Regions from separate parts of the Homo sapiens genome. Here region 1 is linked to region 2. Evidence: promoter capture Hi-C in 16 types of primary human blood cells and fetal thymus (Javierre and others, 2016). All regions are on one chromosome and are shown on one strand. The core of a region is centred on a gene start or on the middle of the fragment in contact, and the rest is flanking DNA. Distances in the headings are between cores, read along the strand shown.

Evidence for each region. The method cuts DNA at HindIII sites, captures the fragments that hold promoters and counts their contacts. A CHiCAGO score of 5 or more calls a contact.
Region 1: a fragment that was not itself captured here is called in contact with the fragment with the promoter of MRPS24 in region 2 in 2 of 17 cell types (monocytes and total CD8 T cells); the score reaches 7.8 in monocytes.

What each region holds. Positions count from the first base shown.
Region 1 is chr7:43,574,409-43,581,864 of GRCh38, reverse strand. No RefSeq gene overlaps it. Among named protein-coding and RNA genes, the nearest start is that of STK17A, 5.0 kb to the left of the region's middle. RefSeq lists enhancers at 3,904-4,405, 3,537-4,736. The HindIII fragment of the contact is 1,587 bases long and covers 1,123-2,709 here.
Region 2 is chr7:43,867,984-43,874,809 of GRCh38, reverse strand. MRPS24 (mitochondrial ribosomal protein S24) reads left to right here and starts at 5,293. Exons shown (of 4, transcript NM_032014.3): 1 at 5,293-5,353; 2 at 5,434-5,502; 3 at 5,736-5,847. The coding sequence starts at 5,315. URGCP-MRPS24 (URGCP-MRPS24 readthrough) reads left to right here. Exons shown (of 7, transcript NM_001204871.2): 5 at 5,434-5,502; 6 at 5,736-5,847. The coding sequence ends at 5,824. It overlaps LOC124901620 (a long non-coding RNA gene), which reads right to left and starts at 5,164. Exons shown (of 2, transcript XR_007060296.1): 1 at 3,976-5,164; 2 at 3,168-3,862. RefSeq lists silencers at 2,719-2,894, 5,162-5,221, 5,522-5,581 and an enhancer at 4,812-4,931. The HindIII fragment of the contact is 8,402 bases long and covers 411-6,826 here.

The DNA.
Region 1 (7,456 bases), core at 667-3,166, 290 kb after region 2:
CTCACTAAGAAAAAATAGAAAAGTTGACAAAAGTTAAAAATTTCCTCTCCCAGCAAGGACTTGGATGACTGAAATCCTGGAAAGATAGGCAGCTCAGAAAGCCACCACTTTTCCCATGAGGTATTTGATGATTTTAAAGCCATGGCTGAAAGAGTGAGAAAGTAAGCAGAGCTTTCAGTCATCTCATGGGGTTGGGGAGACAAAAAAAAAATTGGAGTTTAGGACCTATTTATGATGAGGGGCTGGTAAGCAACTAGGCTTTCAGCTGGGACTCCGAAGAGCTATACCCTAGGGGTGTGGATGAACGGGAAATAGACCCAAGGGCTGAAAACCAGCTTCAAATGGCAACAGTAAATATTCTCTCTGGGGAAAAAAAGCATCATTCAGAGCAACACATTACCCATATAATATTTTATACACCATGTCTGAAACTTAATTTAAACAAAGGACACAGAATTGTCTTAAAAACTAAGGGAAAAAGAAAACAGAAATAAACACACAGAAGATCCAGATATTAAAGTTTAAAGACAGATTTTAAAATAATTCTGTTAAATATCTTCAAGAAATTAAATTGCAAGATAAAGAGTTTTCAGCAGAGAACTGGAAACTCCAAAGAAGAATACAATGGAATTTTGGAATTGGAGAAAAAAACACACTAACTAAAACTACTACAGAATTATGGGCTTAATAACAGATGAGATACAACTTAAGCAAGAATTAGTGAAGCTAATAAGCAAAACAAAATATGAAAAATGACATACAAGAGATATGAAAGAACTTTCTATAAAAGAGATAAGGTCTCAGAAAGGAGACTATGACACATGTGATATGTGGTAAAACATTCTAACACACACGTAATTGGAATATCAGGAAGAGAGGTGAGAGAAAAAAGGAAAAGAAGCAGTATTTGAAAAGATAACGGCTGGAAATTTTTTAAAACTAATGAACAACAATTCTCAGAGTCAAGAAACATTATGAACATAGAGCAGGATTTCAAGCAAAGAAAACCATGTCTAGGCACATTGTAAACTACTGAGAAACAAAATCAAAAAGAAAAGGTTTAAAATCAGCAAAGAAAACAGAGATATAATCTGCAAATGAGCAACAATAAAATTAAAAGCTTATTCTCAAAGAACCAATGGAAGCCTAAACACCTTCAAATGTTTTCAAAGCGCTAGGAGAAATTACCTATCAACCTATATTATATACCCAGTAAAAATGATCTTCAAAATTGAAAATAAAATACAGCCAGTTTTATAACCAAGAAACACTAAGATCATCAGCTGATTTACATTAAAGGAAATTCCAAAAGGAGTTTTTCAGGCAGATGGAATATAATCCCAAATGAAATCATGGAGACATCTAAAGGAATGAAGAGCAATCAATCCTTTTATATATGGATAGATATAAATACATATATATATATGGATAGATATAAATAAACACAATTTATATAAAACAATAAAAATAACGTCATGTGAAGTTTAAATATATGTAGAATTAAAATATACACAATAGCAGCACAAAAAGTGAGATAGAGTAAATGAAAGTAAAGTGTTCTAAAGTCCTAGGATTGTATAGGAATTGATAAAAGTACTTGGCTTTAATACATCAATAATGAATATTATAATCTCTAGAATAACAGCAAAAGTAATAGAAAAAGAATGAATAACATGTAAAAAAGAGGGGAAATGAAAAAATAAAAAATAAAAGAAGCAAGAAAGGGAAAAAAGGAACACAGACAAGTAGAAACAAATAGATGATCACTTTGGGAAGCCAAGGAGGGTAGATCACCTGAGGTCAGGAGTTCGAGACCAGCCTGGTCAACATAGTGAAACCCCCATCTCTATTAAAATAAAACACAAAAAACGAGCTAGGCGTGGTGGTGGGCACCTGTAGTCCCAGCTACTCGGGAGGCTGAGGCAGGAGAATCACTTGAACCCAGGAGGCGGAGGCTGCAGTGAGCCGAGATTGTACCACTGCACTCCAGCCTGGGCAGCAGAGTGAAACTCTGTCTCAAAAAAAAAAAAAAAGGTAAATTTTTTAAAACAGGAGGGTTTTTTGGCAAGTACATTAAATATAAATGGAATCTATACTCCAGTTAAAAGGCAAATGCTATGGACAGAATTAAAAATAATATCAATTATATGTTGCTTGTAAGAGACACCTCAAATAAAAGGCTACAGAAAGATTGAAAGGATGGAAAGAATTATGCCATGTAAATACAGGCATATCTCATTTTATTGCAATTTGCTTTATTGCACTTTGCAGATATTACATTTTTTACGAACTGAAGGTTTGTGGCAACCTTGCATCAAGCAAGTCTACCAGTGCCATTTTTCCAACAGTATGTGCTGTCTTCATTTCTTTCTGTCACATTTTGGTAATTCTCACTATGTTTCAAACTTTATTATTACTATTATATCTGTTATGGTGGACCGTGATCTTTGATCTTTGATGTTATTATTGTAATTGCTTTTGGGTACCATGAATTGCACTCATGCAAAGTTAATTGATAAATGTGTGTGATCTAACTGCTCCACCAATCAGCCCCCCATTTCTCTTCCTCTCCTCAGGCCTCCCTATTCTCTGAAACACAACAATATTGAAATAGACCAATTAAAAACCCTAAAACAGCCTCTAAGTGTTCAAGTGAAAGGAAGATTCCCATGTCTTTTACTTGAAATAAAAGCTCAAAATGGTTAAGCTTAGTGAGGAAGGCATGTAGAAAGCCAAGATGGGCTGAAAGCTAGGCCTCTTGAGCCAGTTAGCCAAATTGTGAATACAAAGGAAAAGTTCTGGAAGGGAATTAAAAATACTACCCCAGTGAACATATTAAAAATACTACCCCAGTGAACATAGGAATGATAAAAATAGTGAAACAGCCTTCTTGCTGATATGGAGAAAGTTTGAGTGGTCTGGATAGAAGATCAAACCAGCCACAAGATTCCCTTAAGCCAAAGCCTAATCCAGAGCAAGGCTTTACCTCTCTTCAATTCTCTGAAGGCTGAGAGAGGTTAGGCAGCTGCCAAAGAAAAGTTTGAAGTTAGCAGAGGTTGATTCATGAGATTTAAGGAAAGAGACTATCTGCATAACATAAAAGTTCAAGGTGAAGTAGTAAGTGCTGATGTAGAAGCTGCAGGAATTTATTTAGAAGATCTAGCTCAAGTAATTGATGAAGAGAGCTATATGAAACAACAGGTTTTCAGTGTAGATTAAATGACTTTCTATTGGAAGAAGATGTCATCTAAGACTCAGAGTTAGAGAGTAAAAGTCCAGGCTTGGCTTCAAAGCTTCAAAGGACAGGCTGACTCCCTTGTTAGGGGCTAATGCAGCTCATGACTCTAAGGTGAAGCCGATGCTCTTTGACCACTCTAAAAATTCTAGGGCCTTTAAGAATTATGCCAAATCTACTCTGCCTATGCTCTAGAAATCGAAAAACAAAGGCTGGATGACAGCACATGTATTTACAACATAGTCTACTGAACATTTTAAGCCCAGTCTGGAGACCTAGTGCTCAGAAAAAAAAAATAGATTCCTTTCAAAATATTACTGCTCATTGACAATGTACCAACAACCCAAGAGCTCTGATGGAAATGTGCAAGGAGATGAATATTGTTTTCATGCCTGCTAACACAACATCCATTCTGCTGTCCATGGAACAAGGAGTAATTTTGACTTCCAAGTCTTGTTACTTCAGAAATATATTTTGTAAGGCTGTAGCTGCCATAGATAGTGAATCTTCTGATGGATCTGGGCAAAGTCAATTGAAAATCTTCTGACCATTTTAGATGTCATTAAGAGAATTCATGGTTCATGGGAGGAGTTAAAAATATCAACATTAACAGGAATTTGAGGAAGTTGATTCCAATCCTCATGGATGACTTTGAGGGGCTCAAGACATCAGTGGAAGATGCTTGTTATAGATGAGCAAAGAAAGTGGTTTCCTGAGATGGAATCTACTCCTGTTGAAGATGCCGTAAACACTGTTGAAATGACAACAAACGATTTAGAATATTACATAAACTTAGTTGATAAAATGGTGGCAATTTTGATTCCAATTTTGAAGGAAGTCCTACTGATAGAGGCAAGAGGCAGACAAAGGCCTAGGCAGATAGGGAAGGGTCCCCGGAGAATCTCCAACTCGCCCCACAAGTGTTTACATCAGATGTTTTGTGCAGATAAGGGAACCTGCACAGGGGACTTGCCTGAGCATGCCCGCAGTGAACTGGAGGCCCACAAGCACTGGGGGAATGGGGTGGAGCCACCAGGAATTCGTGTCTTATGCAGGGGAGGAGCCTGGCTAAGGAGCCTAGATAAGGAGCAAAAAAATCCTGCATCACTACTGTGTGGGTAAAATGCTATCAAACAGCATTGCATGCTACAGAGGAATCTTTTGTGAAAGAAAGGGTCAATCAATGTGGCAAACATCATCTTTGTCTTATATTAAGAAATTGCTACAGCCACCCTAACCTTCAGCTACCACCACCTTGATCAGTCAGTTGCCATCAGCATGGAGGCAAGACCCCTCACCAGCAAAAAAATTACAACTTACTGAAGGCTGAGATGATCAATAGCACTTTTTAGCAATATAGTATTTTAAAATTAATGTATGTTGTTTCGCATATACATTCATTTAAAATGTACAATGTATGTACATTGTTTTTCTAGACATAATGCTATTGCTCACTTAATAGACCATAGAATAGTGTAGACATAACTTATATATGCACTGGGAAACCAAAAAATTTGTGTGACTTGCTTTATTATGATATTATTACTGCAGTAGTCTGGAACTGAATCTGCAATATCTCTGGGTTATGTATGCCTATTGTGCCTAATAGAAAATTGGTTGTACCTATAAAAATATTAGACAAAGTAGATGTTAAGGCAAGAAGTATTATAAGAGATAAAATGCATTAGTGAAAAAAGAATCAATTCAATGCTATCTTTAAAAGATAGTATTGAAATATACGAAGCAAAATGACAGAACTAAAAGGAGAAATACACAAATCTACCATCACAACCTGAGATTTTTAACACATTCCTCTCTGTAACTGATAGAACAAGCAGGGAAAAAAATAGAAAGGACATAGAAGCATTGAACAACACAATGAACAAAATTGACATGATACACATACAACACTACAGAATATATATTATTTTGCTGCAAAAAGAATATTTATTGATTATGTAGTGGGTCGTAAAGCACTTTTCAACAATTTTAAAGGACTGAAATTCTATAGAGTATGCCCTATCATCATAGTGGAATTAAGGAAGAAACCAAATGTCATCTATTATTTTGATATAAAACAACCACAACCAAAAGCCACAATCACAAATAAGTGGAAATTGGCCAATTTACTTCTCATCTATGTTGACAGAAAATGCTGGGAAAAAACATTGCATAATATTCAATACCCACTCATGACTGATTAAAATAGAAGGGAATTTCCTAAACTTAAGAAGATACATCTCTAAAAAACCTACAGAAGTATTATCGTTGAAGTCAGAGGCACAGCAAAGTTACGTGCTATCACGACTCTTATTCAGTGTTGCAGTTGAGAACCTAAATAGTGCAGTAAGACACTCTGGCATTAATATTGGAAAGGAAGAATTTAAATGGTCATGAAGGAATAGTCACAATTGTTAAATGTAGAGAATTCTATATTCTACTTCTAGAATATCCAAAAGAATAAACTGGACCGGGCTCATGCCTGTAATCCTAACACTTTGGGAGACCGAGGTGGGAAGATCGCTTGAGCTTAGGAGTTTGAAACCAGCCTGGGCAACATAGTGAAACCTTGTTTCTATTAATGCTATTTTAAAATGTAATAAAAAAGGGCTGGGTGTGATGGCTCATGCCTGTAATCCCACCACTTTGGGAGGGAGGCCGAGGTGGGTGGATTGCTTGAGGTCAGGAGTTCAAGACCAGCCTGATCAACATGGTGAAACCCCGTCTCTACTAAAAATACAAAAATTAGCCGGGCATGGTGGCGGGCATCTGTAATTCCAGCTACTCGGGAGGCTGAGGCATAAGAATCGCTTAAACCCGGGAGGTGTAGGTTGCAGTGAGCCAGGATAGTGCCACTGCACTCCAGCCTGGGTGACAGCATGAGACCCCATCTCAAAAAAGAAAATTTTAAAATAAAAGAAAATAAATAAATAAGTAAAATGTAATAAAAAAGAATCAACTGAAAAATATTAAAATTAATATATTTTAAAAGACAATTAGGTTTAATAAAAATAAATCAATAGCATTCCTACATAATAACAATGAGATATGAAAGCTAATGGGGAACTATTCCATTTGAATAAAATGAAAATAAAGCATGCAGAAACGACCCTCACAAAAATGCACAAAGCTTATATTTTATTTTAAAGAATGTATCTATTCTAAGAGACATAAACAAATGCTTCAATAGAGATACATAGATGAAAAGATTAGATTCTGTAATTCTTTGGAAATAAATCAGTATCTTTAACAAAATTCTAATAAGTCTCAAAAATATGTCTTTTGGAATGTGTTAAAATTATCTCAGAGTTCATCATGAAGAATATCCAAATGAGTGTAGCTAGAAAATTTTTGCAAAAGAAAGTCGTAAGGAGAGAACTGTCCTAACATATTAAAATACAGTATGAAATAAGATAGCTCAACATAGCAGAATAGTTTTGAAATAGAGTTATAATATTTAAGAAACCACAATAAGCCCCAAATCTTCTAAATCATTAAATGTAAAACAAACAAACAAAAACTACAAAATCTAGAAAGAAATGACACATAACAATTAGCTGACTTTTTCTTTTTTTGTTGTTTTTTTGACACGGGGTCTCACTGTTGCCCAGACTGGAGTGGAGTGGTGCCAGCTCGGCTCACTGCAACCTCTGCCTCCTGGATTGAAGCGATTCTCTTGCCTCGGCCTCCCGAGTAGCTGGGATTACAGGCATGTGCCACCATGCTTGGCTAATTTTTGTATTTTTAGTAGAGACAGGTTTTTGCCATGTTGGCTAGGTTGGTCTTGAACTCCTGGCCTCAAATGATCCATCCTCCTTGGCCTCCCAAAGTGCTGGAATTACAGGCATTAGTCACTTTGCCTGGCCTTGACAATTAGCTGATTTCTGAAAGAAAAAGTAACTTCTAAGAAATAAAGCAGTGGAAAAAAACTCCAAGAAAAATATTTGACTACCTAATAATTCAAAAATCATTGCATATCAAAAAATGTTATATGCAAAGTTAGAAGGCAAACAAGCTGGAAATACATTAGCAAAAAGCATTATAGATAAAAATCATACCCTAAATGAAGAACATATAATAAGAGGTGTGCCAACACTATATTAGAAAGAGGTCAAAGAAAATAAAAGATTTTTTTATAGTGAAATGTTCAAATTTAATTTATATTTCCTGGAGAAATATAAATGGGGTTTCATTTTTGCCAATAAAATTGGCAAAGATTTT
Region 2 (6,826 bases), core at 4,044-6,543:
TTCTCAGCCTCCCAAGTAGCTGGGACTACAGGCGCCCACCATCACAAAAATACAAATAATTTTTGTATTTTTAGTACAGACAGGGTTTCACCACGTTGGCCAGGCTGGTCTCACACTTCTGGCCTCAAGTGATCCACCTGCCTCAGCCTCCCAAAGTGCTGGGATTACAGGAGTGAGCCACCGTACCCAGCCTCCTCCCACCCTTTTTGAAGGGTTGATGTTTCAAGTCTGTGAACTGTGGATGGGCCTTGCCTTTAGCCCTCCAGTCAGTGCTGCTCTTAGGATTCCAATGAACACAACACCCAGGACTTGCCTTTCATATCTGGAGCTCAAAATGCTCACCTTCAGGTCTGAGAAGCCCCAGAATTTGCCATGGGGCTACTGGACGGTCATGTCCTTGGAGCCAAGCTTAGTAGAGAGAGAGCCACCCAGAAAGGTGGACAGGGCGGCAGGCTGCTCACCAGAGCATGGCCGTGTGCTCACAAGGGGTCCTGTTTGATGAAAGTGTCAAACCAAGCAAGTACCATCTTGGAGGAAATGGGCCTGAAGAGTGCTTGGGACAAGGAACAAGCGTGTCTTCGCCTCTCTTGTGAGATGAGGTGTAGCTTGCTTCAGCACATTGGATGTCCGGCCTGGTTTTGAACCTCAGCCTTACTTCCTACTAATTATATGACCCTTTAGCAAAGTTACTTGGCTTCTCCAAGCCTTAGTTCCCCCTACTAGCGCCTGTGTAGGAATGGAAGGTGCTTATACAGTGCCTGCCCTGTGGTGGAAAAGCCAGTCTGTGCATGAGGTAAGTGAGGCACCCATCTCTGTGTCTACACCATTCTGCACACCCATGAGGTTTGTGGAGAGGAAACTGCCTTCTGCATCAGCCTCAAACATTTTAACATGTCAGATCAGGATTCATCTTTTAATCAATCAATGGTACCTTAAGATAATTTGCAGCCAGTTTTCCTTCTTAATGGTATGTAAAACAGCATCTTCTCATCGATACTATCTTAATTTACTGAAACAGCACCTAGCAGAACTGGTGGTGGTCTGCAGTTTATACAATATAAACCTGATCTGGTAACTACCCCAACTCCTCAGGTGTGGTGTATTAGCCCAGTAAAAGGGAAAATCCTCTTTCTGAGTCACTAATAAAATAATTTGGCCATAAACCTATCCTGATTTCTTCTAAGACTCCAACAAAATTTCACCAGAGTGCAGCTTTATGAGCACTGATGAGTCAGGGCTGTACAAGAGCCAAGATGACCTTGGTCCTGGTCTCCTGTCATTTCGTCAACCACACCCTCGCCCCGCCACATACACACTTTGGAGGCCATGGTTTCTTCCATGCTGCTGTCTGCCTGGGGGCCCCTTCTGCCTGTCTCTGGCCCTGGTTGACTGGCGGGCACATCTCTCAGAACAGCCTCTGGTGCCAGTCGCACCTCCATTTGTGCCCACCCAAGGGTTCAGAGGCCTTTCTGTGCCCTTCTTGGTCCTTAGCACATTTTCATTGTCTCCTCATCTGAGCCCATTATATCTAGATCTAGCAGTTTCTGGGAGCCAGGGAGTGGCAGTCTCAGGGGCTGGAGCTCATGAGCCCATCCCTCGGTCTTCTCTTTCTTGAGTCCGCACCCCCTCTATCCTAAGCACCAGTTTGGCTTCTTCAGGTTCTGACTTTTAGCCCAGGGTTCTGGTGTGGCACTGGGCATTTCTAATTGCCCATAGCTCTGATAACAGGGGAGTGGATTCCTTGGGACCGCAAAGCTGATGTCAGTAATTATAGCTGGGGACCTCACCCACCAAACCCAGCCCTTGTGCCTCACCAGAAGGAGAACAGAGGTGGGGGGATGGAGCAGGAGCTCACAGGGAAAACGGCTGAGCTGTCTTGGCAATCTGGTTTGACACGCCTCTCTGCTTTACTCATAGGGTTTCAGTTGTTTGACCTATTTCTCAGAATAGAGCTGAGAGCCTCTGGGATTTTTCCTAGTGAACGAGTTATTAGGAAAAAAAGAATCACAAGGAATAATGTAAAAACCATAGGTTTACAAAGTGTAAAGTGTCAGCAGTTCTGAGTTAGGATAAGTCAGCTGTAAAGAGAACCACCATGAGTGGAGTGATATCGGCTCACCCTGCAGCCAACAGGAAGGGAGATGTCACCCCACCGCCCCCAGGCTGGATTCTGAAACTCTTCAGGCTCTGGAAGTACAAGGGGGCTGACAGCTCCCTTTTACACAGTGTCTCTCCATGGCCCAGCCAGTGCTGTATCCCCTGAGCACTCTGGGTGAGCCCATGGTGGCTGTGCTGCACCCAACTGGACAGATCATCTCAAAGAAGTCCTGACCTCCCAGCAGACCCCTCCTCCCTTCTTCTGCCCTTGTGACCAAGAGTGGTGGGCGTGGACTATGGCTATGTTCCTTAGAGAGCTGCCATAATCTTCCAGGGGCATCCAACAGCACTCTCCCCGAAAGGGGGCTCTGCAAATACACATTTTGGGAGTCTCCCAAATAAACTGAGTGAGTTCAGGACACTGGTTCTCAGCCCCGACTGCAAATTGAAATCATCTAAGGGGCATTTTAAAAGTGTGAGTGCCTGCCCTCTCCCCACAGAGGTGGTGTGGAACCCAGGGGGCTCTGTCATGCAATTGCAAATCACTGCTTTGAGAGCATAGGAGCAACTTCTGGTTCTTGGTTATTATGTACAGAACAAAGGCTCATGTCAGAGAAAAAGCAGTTTTACATCCCTGTCTCTGCATTAGGCTCCAGGAAGGGTGCAGATGGGTCTTTCACATGGGGTCATATGCTCCTGGCCTTTCCATGTCCAGGCAGTCCTTGAGGGCCACTTGGGAGCTGTCTGCAGCAAGCCACAGAAACCCAGGCCATTCCCTGATCCTAACATGGTCTGAACCCTCACCCCCAGGAAGTGATACTGAAAGAGCACATGCTTTGGAGCAAAAAGGCCTGCTACCATTTACTACTTCTGTAACCTCAGGTGAGTCTGTGAGCCTCCATCTTCTGCTCTGTGAAGCCTGGAAATACTGCCTCCTTTATGGAATTAATAGGAGAAGGAAAGTGCATCAAAACAACAACAAATGGAAGTTACAGAAAAATAAAACATCCCCAGTCAGATTTTTCTGCTGATTATTTAAAACAATATAACATTCATACTGATGTATAAAAGTCATTTTAAGTAATTTTAATCATGTAAAGACCGACACGTCCCCTTTCCCCCAATCACAGTATAAACAAAGCTAATAAAGGATAGATAACAAGATATTTGAACCCCAGAAATGTCTGCCACTGAAATGGCCATTGTGATGCTTGGAAAGATCTAGATCGGTTTGGAATTCCAGAGAGAGATCTCAGGCATAAGGGAGAATGGCTTGAATAGAGGAAAGCATAAATTTGATCATTTGATTGCCTACTGCTTTATGGGCTAAACTTGATTCCCAACCACAGCCTTCGTGGTGTGGCCCCTGCCCACCTTGGGCCCCAATAGGTGTTGTGCCATTGCCACCTCTGCCTCTGATCAGCCCAAGGATCTTGTTTCCCTTTCTCCTTCCCCTTTCCTCTGATTAGGGTGGTGTTGCTATGAGTTCTCACAGAACCCTCAATAGCTGGCTCATCTCCCTAACGGGATATGTGGCTATCAGGGACTCGTTAAAAACAACAACAAAACCCACAACTGCTCTCTCCCTCTGCCAGGCACATCATACTGTACTTCTCACAACCACCATTATTGTCCCCAGTTTACAGATGAGAGAAACCGAGGCTCAGAAGGTTCAGTCACTTGTCCAAATTACACAGCCAGGAAGCATTGGGTCCACGATTTGGACTCAGGCAATTCAGATGCCACATCCCATGTTCCTCACCACCTTGGAGCAAATTAATGAAACTTAACAATTATAAAATTATTGAACATTATGAAAACTTTAAAAAATAATTGTCAGTTGAAAAGGATTTCTTAGGAAATGTTGAAAGTTCTTACATTTGCAAAGTATGCATTGGAGGGCACCTCATCCCTGTTCTGTCCCTTTATTCAATATGCATAACAGTTGGGGGCCGCAGTTCCTAAAAAGTAAGAATAAAACATTTCTGGTGAAGTGGACATGGAAGACCTTGTCCTTTTATTACGGGTTTTTTGAGAACCCACCTTCATGTAATCAGAGGAATCTTGGTCATGGGAAATGGGCTGGACTGAAGTCAAGAGACTTGTGTCTTGGTCCCTCTTTCCCTCTTCTCAGTGTGGTCATGGGCAACTCATTTCCACCGTTCTTCCATTTCCCCTTCCCATGGATCATAATCCAGTCCTCCCCCTGACAGGAAACCGCAGCAGTATGCAAGTACTGTACCATTAAGGGGAATGATGTAGACCCAGAACGGCCAAAACATTGGCAATTTCACATCACTCAACCAAACACAACCCATCATTGATTAAATATTCTCTTGATCCTAATAGCTCTATAAGGTAGTACTATTATTAAGGCCCATTTTATAGATAATAGAACTGAGTCTTAACTGTACAAAGATTGTTATACATGGGTCTGACTCCAGAGCCCGTGTTTTTTCCATGACCGTGGTGACTTCTAAAATAAAATATCCCGCGTTGCTATTTTTCCGTTTGACATTAATAATTACTGGATACCAATAATAGTGGCGACGCACTGGTTTCAGCATTACAGGCCCTGCGATATTCTCACGAATCTCCTTGCCCTCCGGCCCCTTCCCCGTACTTAAAATTTTCCTTCCTCAGGGGCCAGTCACCACTGTGGTCACATGTGGCAAACCCATTCTTGCATAACTGCGTAAGTCATCCTTGAAGAATTGGGTGACGTTTTAACCAAAATATGTTTCTTCTTTATTTGTGGATAAAAGTCTGGAGGGTTTTTCTGTTTTGTTTTTCTACGAATATTATTTGGAGGCATAACTAGGACCTGGGGAAACGCTTGGCTCCTCTTCGAGCCCCGAGGGTGCAGGTTGGGCAGGGCGGGCTCCGGTGGGCCGCACACCCATCACCCGTACTAGCGTGAGGTTGTCGAAGAGAAAATCTCACGTTTCGCATCCTCAAATTTCCGGATCTGAAACCCTATGCAAGCAGCAACCGCGGGAGAGCGAACAGCGGCGGGATGAGCATTCACAAGGCTGAGCATTCACAGGGCTGCGGGGAAGGCGGGAGTAACAGCTAGCAGCATACCGCGGCCCCGCCCCGCAGAGGCCCTGCCCCGCCCCCGCCAGAGTACAGAGTACGAGCTCCGACTTGGTCTCGTCCGCGGTCGTCCCCACCCCTCAGCGCGCTGTGGTACGTCCCGCGCTCCGCTTGGCCCAAGATGGCGGCCTCCGTGTGCAGCGGGTTGCTGGGGCCACGGGTGAGTGGGGCGACTCGGCAGGTCCCTGCGAGTCGGAGGTGGGGTCCCTAGTTTCCGCCTCACGCGCCCTCCCTCCACAGGTGCTGTCCTGGAGCCGAGAGCTGCCTTGCGCTTGGCGCGCCCTGCACACCTCCCCGGTCTGCGCCAAGGTGAGCACCGCCGGGGCAGGGGCCTGGGGGCCTGGGGGCCGGGGGGCCGGGGGCCGGGGAAGCCGTGCGGGCTGAAGGGGGCGTGTCGCTGGGGTCCGAGGCGGGGCTAGGGTCGGGGCTTAGGGATCAGGGGATTGGGGCCGGGGAACAGTGCCAGCTGACTGGGGGGACATGGCGCGAAGTAGGGGTCTGGATCGGGGATCTCGTGGAGTCACGGCCCCTTTTGCTCCTAGAACCGGGCGGCCCGAGTACGCGTAAGCAAGGGGGACAAGCCGGTGACCTACGAGGAGGCACACGCGCCGCACTACATCGCCCACCGTAAAGGCTGGCTGTCGCTGCACACAGGTGAGCGGACCCCAGGCCTCCAAAAGGAGCACTCAATCCGACTGTCATGTAAACAAAATGAACACGTGTCACAGGTTTTCTTTAACTCAGGAAATAATGCTAGGGTCAGAAATCTATGAAACCAACTCAAGGGAGACATAAAAAAGCAGAGATATATATAGATCAGGATGTTGAAACAAATTTGAAGATGGATGCAAAACTGACTTTTTCCATGGCAGGCAGGGACTCAATTGATCCTCCACTGAACAGAAATTATTTGCATGTCTACAGACAAGAATTATTTTGCATTCCTGTCAGTTATCTGTAATTTACAGAGCTGTAAAATAGCTCAGAGTCAAGGAAAGGAGTGAAACCGTTGCAGAATCTGATAACCCTGAACAGTGTGCTCTAAGGAATGCAGTTTTCCACTAAAGCACAAATTTTTCTCTGTAAATATATACAGACAACCCTCGTTATTCATGAATTCCATATTTTCAGATTCTTCTACTGACTAAAATTTATTTGTAAGCCCCAAATCAACACTCTGGGCACTCTCAAGGTCACTCTGAGATGTGGGTGGAGCTGCCACCCCAGGTGCATGTCCCGAGCTGAGGTCGACAAGGCTCTGCCTAGTTTCAGCTCTCGTACTGTAAAAGGTGTCCTTTTTATGGTCTAGAATCTTTTTTTTTTAATTTGCATTTTCGTGCTTTTTGTTAGTGATTTTGCTGTTTAAAATGGCCTTGCAATGCTGAAGTGCTATCTAGTGTTCCTAAGCGGGAGAAGGCTGTGACGTGCCTTAGGGAGAACATACATGTATTAGAGAATCTTTCTTCAGTCATGAGTTGCTCTTGGCCCTGAATTCAATGTTAGTGAATCTACCATATATATTAAACAAGGTGTCTTTAAACAGAAACACAAAGGAAACTAGGTTATGTATTGATTTGTTAACAAAAATACGGTGCCCAGAGGCTGAAAGGAATCTAACCCTGTATTTCACCTA